2 separate regions of the Homo sapiens genome follow, and region 2 is linked to region 1. Evidence: promoter capture Hi-C in 16 types of primary human blood cells and fetal thymus (Javierre and others, 2016). All regions are on one chromosome and are shown on one strand. Each heading gives the region's core, a stretch centred on a gene start or on the middle of the fragment in contact. The rest is flanking DNA. Distances are from core to core; before and after follow the strand shown. Region 1 holds the start of PHF14 (PHD finger protein 14). Region 2 has its middle 370 kb from the start of PHF14.

Region 1 (3,264 bases), core at 330-2,829:
TTTGATTCTGAAAATCTCCTTCTAGAAATTAGTTTTACATAAACACGAATGCCAGATTTTGAATTTCTCTTTTAGATGATTCAGCATAATTGCTCCAAATAAATCTAAAAGGCTATTGTCAAACAGTGGAATATTTGGATTTATAATTTCATAGATAAGACTATCAGTCCATGATATGGTTGGTGTTTAAAGTAGAATGGAAGTGAAATTCCCAGAGTGGAGTTTTTAAAATAACCAAGTTCCTAGGATTTTAACTGGAAGAATAAATATCTGAAAGGCAATGAGGAGTATTAAGCATGGGATGCCACTTCTGCACCTTGAGAAAATGAAGTATGGAAGGATGAGTGGTTTTCATTTGAGAGGGCTGCAGGGTAACTGTTTCTATTTCAGATGAGGAGGTAAAAAGAATGGGCATTGAAAAGGAAAAATGTTTACTAAGTAGGTTATACATTTTGGAATAGAAGTTTCTATAGCACAATAGAAAAGTTTGAGAGGTCACATGGCAATGATAGTTTGGGTGAGAGTGAGGCAGGAGAATAGGGTGTGGAGGCAGGGAACCTAAGGATGTGTCACTCCGACTTCCTAAGAACTAAATTGAAAGGAAACCCCTAACTTTCCATGCCTAAGTAACAAAAGGACCAGAGGCTACTCCCTTTGCAAACCCCCACTTTTTCTGCAGGGCAGATGGGAAATTGGCTGTGGGCAGCAAATCAGACTGATTGCAGGAGAGTCTTCCTTTGCATAGAAGTATCACTTTGTAACTTCACCATCTGCAAGAAATCAAACTGATTGCAGGGGAAATCTTCCTTTGCATAGAGGTATACCACTTTGTAACTTCACCCTAGCCTCTGATTGATTGCTTTTTGCACCAATGTTTGCACAGGAGCATGACCTTTGTAACTTCACTTCAGCCTCTGGTTGGCTGCTTTCTGCAACCAATCAGACTGATTGCGCGTTACTTCATTTACATGAGGTGAGCATTAGGTGGCCAATAGGAAGCTTCTAGAGGGTATTTGGACTCAAGATTCTGTATCCGGGCCCTTGAGCCGCTGCTCAGGTCGCTTCCGTACAGAGCGTGCTTTAATTTTCAATAAGTCCCTGCTTTTGTTGTTTTGTTGCTTCATTCTTTCTTTGCTTTGCTGGGCGTTTTGTCCAATTCTTTGTTAAAAACGCCAAGAACCTGGACAACTTGCAGTCACGATCCTCTACCGGTGACAATATCATTTAAATATTGGTAGTGGCTTAAGGTAGCAAACATCCCTTTGTGGAACGTTTACTCAGTAAATCCTTAAAAAACAGATCAGAAACAAAAACTGGCCTCCCAGGGATTTGGACTCAGGAGGTGAATTAGGCGCGGAGAGGGCGGAGCCTTTGGGGTTTATGGGCGGAATTGCACAGGGTTTGGCGGGGATCTCTGCTCCGCCTTGGCACTACTCGGCTCCGCTCGCCTCCGCGCGGCTCCCTGGGCTTTCACTCGGCTCTGTTCGGCTCCTGCTCGGGAAGGGTGCGCGGGGGCGAGTCCTGCGCATGCGCCCTCAATTCCTGCTGCTCTCAGGGCTGCGCTCAGCCTCGTGTTTTCACTTCCTTTTCAGAGCTGTATCCGGGTCGCTGCTTTCCCTATTGTCTGAGGCAGCCGCCCTCGCGCTGTGCAATTTCTGGTCTTTCGTTGCTTCTGGTCCAGGCTAATAAAGTTTTTCTTTCTTTAATTTTTTTTCTTCTAGTTTTAACGGGAGAAATTAACTCCCCGGGGCCGCCGGGTTGACTGCGCTGCCTGGGCCGGAGGTCTTCTCCGGCCAGGGAGCGCTGTGGGAAGGGGCTCGAGCGGCCAGGGCCAGGCGAGGCCGGGGGGGCGGGGGGTTAGGGGACCGCGGGGCTACTCTTGGGAGCGCCCCTGTCCGGCTGGCTGCGCGCCGGTTTTAAATAGCATCTTTCGGACTTGTCTTCGCGGCCCCAGTCCCCGACCTCGGCGCTGCCTGGGCTCCTGCAGCCTCTCCCTAAGTCTTCTCCAAACGACCACCTCACGGATTCCTTAGTAAGTGTATCCGAGGCCTCTGCGGCGAGAGGTCCATTTCAGCCATTCTAGAAGTCAGGGCCGGTGGGAGCAGGGCAGGGGTGGGAGAGTCCTGCGGGAAAGCAGGATTGGTGGACCCTCGCCCTCCATGGTCCGCGGGAATGAAGCCCGCTTGTTTTATTCCCTGATTTTTGCCGTTTTTATTGACTGTTACGATGTCTAAGTGGGGGATTACGAGGAAGGTGCAGAAACATCTCGAAAAGATGAGCAAGAGGGTCAGCTTCGATTTTAGCTGGTCTGAGTTGGCGTTGGCAGCATCAGGGCTGGAGCTGCCTTTGAAACTGCCCGTGGAGCTGTCCAGCCCTCCCCACCCTGCTTCTGCACCCCAACCTTCTCCTGACCCCTTTTGCTGAGAACTCAGTTAGACAAAAATTCCTTGTGCGAGGTCATCTTTATGTTCTCTTAGCACCACAACTCTCCCCTGTGTTTGGTGTGATTATGAATGACAATGTAATTTTTTTCTCTTCACAGTGGATCGCAGCTCCAAGAGGAGGCAGGTGAAGCCTTTGGCAGCTTCTCTGCTGGAAGCTCTTGATTATGATAGTTCAGATGACAGTGATTTTAAAGTTGGAGATGCCTCAGGTAAATATTTCCTTCTCTCTTCCCCTTTCCCAGCTTTCTGGAGTTAGGCTTATTTTTAGACTTTTTAAATCGGTTTTGATTAAAATGCCAATTTTAAGTGAAAGCACGTAAACTTCATTTATTTTGTCCATTTGATTTCCCATTTTGCCTTTAGATCCTGTCACTAGACCTATAATTGCTTCTGTTTTCCTCAGAGATAATTAGCAGTCAGGGGAAGGACTTTTTCCAAAGATGCAAAAGGATTTCTCTGTTTTACACCTTAAAATATATTTATGCTTATATTATAGAGGAAAAAACTGAAAGATATCCCGAAGTAGAAAAGTATCCTGAGAGGTGTGTGGACCATTAATAGTCCCTGAGCAGGGTTCTTCTTTTTTCAGATCACTTGACAATCTCTTAGGGGAGTTTTGCTTTTTTTGTGTATTAGCTCTTTTACTAGAATAAAATTGACCAGAGTAAGAGTTGCACTTCAAATTATAGTAGGTGCTGGACCTTGTGGATTGGGCCTTTCAGATGTCTCTGAAGTATAAGTCATGCATGCTTGCTCACTATATTTAGTAATTTTAAAAACTTTTTTTAAAGGTCGTATATTCACATTGTACTAAACTGGA
Region 2 (3,028 bases), core at 243-2,742, 370 kb after region 1:
TTGTGAATAGAGTTTAAGGCTTTCTTGATACAATAAACTAGGGAAATCTGGACTTTTTTTTTTTAAAAAAACATAGTTAATTCATGTACAAAAGTTGAAATAAATGGTAGGCAAGTAAAAGTTTAAAAAAATTGTAGCCAACAGCTGAGGAGATGCAAAGGCAATGAAATTATCTTCTGTCTTCCCTCCATTTCCACCTCTGCTTTCAACTGTCCTTTTTTTACTTTAGCCTTTCCCTTGGCTCACAGAAGAGTTGGGATCATATTTATATACTTTGTCCTAACCTGAGATTTGCTGGGTATATTTGCCAATTTGTTTTTGTTGGGTAATTTGTATTCTTTATATATATTCTGGGTTCTAATCCTTTGTCTTGGAGGCACAATGGAAATAACTTCACTCAATCTCTTATATTTTAATTTTGTTATGCCTTTTGCAACAAAGTTATAAATTTTAATATTGCCAAAATTATTAATATTTTCCTTTATGCCTTTTAAGAAGACCTACCAAGTCCCCAGGAAAAATATATCCATTGTCTTATATTTTCCATATCAAACTTCTTAATTCAATATTTTCATTCATTCCATTCATATTATCCCAATGTATGCTTGTATGAGCATCTCTGTTCAAGTACGTATTTATTTTATAGATTTACAGTGGATTTATTGTACACTGAATTTCAAAACATAATACATACAGATTCTTGAACAGGAAATTTTCAGGTACACATTTAGTGCAATATAGATGGACAATTTGGATGATAAAGAAAGTATTTACTTTCTGTTGAAACGAATAACAATATTTGATTAGGTAAAAATATATAGTCACTAAGTTTTTGTAATAGCGTACGTGATGATGCTTGTATTCTATTCCACATTATTCCTAATGATGTGCTATTCAATGGCTTCTTTTTTCTTTTCTTTCTTTTTTTTTTTTTTTTTAGCATTTTGGCATTTGAGGATTATCTAAATTTTTATCATCCTGATTGACTATTTTTTAAAATTAGAAATTCATATCCTAAACTTCAGTCTGACATTCATAATGAGGCAGTCACCTGACACCATTCTCCTACATCTGTGGAGTTGCCCTGGTTTACTAATAAGAATTACAGACAAATATTGTGCTAGATGAATTCTTGAAAGGGGAGACTAAAGAATTAACAGTGTTTTCTAAGAATAAAATAAACAGCCTTCTTGACCCAGTAAATGAATGCCATTAGGTGATTTCTACTCAGTCTTTGTACTAGCAATTCAGTCTCAAATAGTGATGACTTTAGTGGAAGGATAAGGACCAATTATGAGAGACTCAGCGATAGTTCTTTGTCCTTGGGTTCTCAGGTGGTTTAGTGCTGCTGAGTTCATCTGTGGCATTCCTGAAATAACTGAAGCCTGAATTCCATTTCATAACCAGTACTGGAAAAAGTAAGGGTCCAAAGAGGAAAAGCATAGAAAGCCACATTAAGCAGTTACCTGCAATGCTACAGCCTGATGAGAGGCATGAGGTACTGTTACATGTCCTCTCTATTCTGGGCAAAAAGTGTTTTTCAGTTTCAAGTCTTTGTAAGGCTACACTTCCAGCTTTTACTTCAGTCAGAAAGAATCAGTGATGTGATCTCAAACTGCTGGGATTCTGAAATGGCCTAATTTTAATTCAAAGTAGTTTTCTTTAGCATAAAAAGATGAATCATTCAGTTAGCATAAAGTGGTATCTTGGGAGGTATAGGAACATGATCCATCTTCCATCTTGCATTGCTAACTGGTGTCTGTTTATCTTCCCTTCCCCTTCCATTTCAGAGGGCAGCAAAGCAGTTCTGTGCATTTTTAGATCCCCACTTTTGCTTGCCATGCATGTGAGCCATAAGCCAGAGTTGATCATCACAAGGCCACACTGAATCTGGTCCACTCACTGGTGGGGACTGGCTCCATGAGGGCTTGATTAATGAAAGCAAAGCAAGAAAGGGAGTGAGCTATACATCTGAAAATGCATGCTTAATAAAGATAGGAGAGTCTAGTCATTTTTTGTTTCCCCTTATCAGTCTCAGCTGTGATTCCTAAATCTTTCCCCGTTGCTTGTTTATATTTCCTTATTGTAGCGTTTTAAACCTCATTTTACCTTCCCATGGCCTTGCTTTTTCCTAGTCTTTTGGTTAATGTTCAGAAATTACACAATTTCGTTACATGTAGCATCCCAAGACTGCCATCTAGTGGAATAAATTGGTCAAGACAACTTTTTATGGTGATCGTTCCCAAAATTTAAATTGGGCACGGTGTCGCTTGAAACAGAAATTCCTCCTTTCATCACAGTTCAAAGCAATGTCTGGGCTCCAACTTATCAAATTCGTGTAGAGAAACTGAAAACTGCGTTTAATTGTCTAAAATGACTGCTGGATATATAACTATGTTTGCTGTTTTATTAAGTTCTGCAGAGCTTCTGAAGAGTTGTAATATTTGCTGTGAAAAGTGAGATGGTGAAACTAATGGAATAAATGGTTTTAGAAGAAAGGGTGAAATTAAGTGCAGGTGTCTTTCCTGGGAAGGATTAAAAATCACAGAGCCATTTTGTCCTAGAAAAAACTTTTTTCAAAAATACGTCGTCAACCTTCTCATTAACTGTATCACGTGGAGTATTTTCACTGTGACAGATGCTCTTGCAAAGACTAAAGGAACACGTAGCTATTCCTATGGTATAATATAGTATCAGATGGTTTTATTTATGTAATTCACTCATTTTTTTGCATAGATGAATGTATGTAATTATACAAGGGCATATTATTTGGCTTTCTTTGATCATCAATTAGTGATTTTTTTTGGAAGAAATTCGTCCTGATTGAATTCTGTGATTTTAAAATATAATTCTTGATTATAAAAGTAGCACAAGTTCATTACAGATAACTTGGAAAAATTCAGAAATAATTAAAGAATAAACAAGACACCTATAATTTGTTCTCCAGAAAAACCCTTTTTTATTAGTTTTATATATTTTCCTTCTTCAGACTTTAACCTCTTCATAGATGTAATATATTTACAATTTT

Evidence for each region. Contacts are between HindIII fragments. The CHiCAGO score rates a contact against its expected background, and 5 or more counts as called.
Region 2: a contact is called between a fragment that was not itself captured here and the fragment with the promoter of PHF14 in region 1, in 3 of 17 cell types (megakaryocytes, erythroblasts and M0 macrophages). The highest score is 7.5, in megakaryocytes.

Annotation. Positions count from the first base shown.
Region 1 is chr7:10,972,293-10,975,556 of GRCh38, forward strand. It overlaps PHF14 (PHD finger protein 14), which reads left to right and starts at 1,580. Exons shown (of 18, transcript NM_001007157.2): 1 at 1,580-2,032; 2 at 2,543-2,653. The coding sequence starts at 2,032. RefSeq lists silencers at 775-824, 1,335-1,394, 2,375-2,424 and an enhancer at 1,350-1,644. The HindIII fragment of the contact is 4,357 bases long and covers 998-3,264 here.
Region 2 is chr7:11,341,819-11,344,846 of GRCh38, forward strand. No RefSeq gene overlaps it. Among named protein-coding and RNA genes, the nearest start is that of PHF14, 370 kb to the left of the region's middle. The HindIII fragment of the contact is 5,296 bases long and covers 1-3,028 here.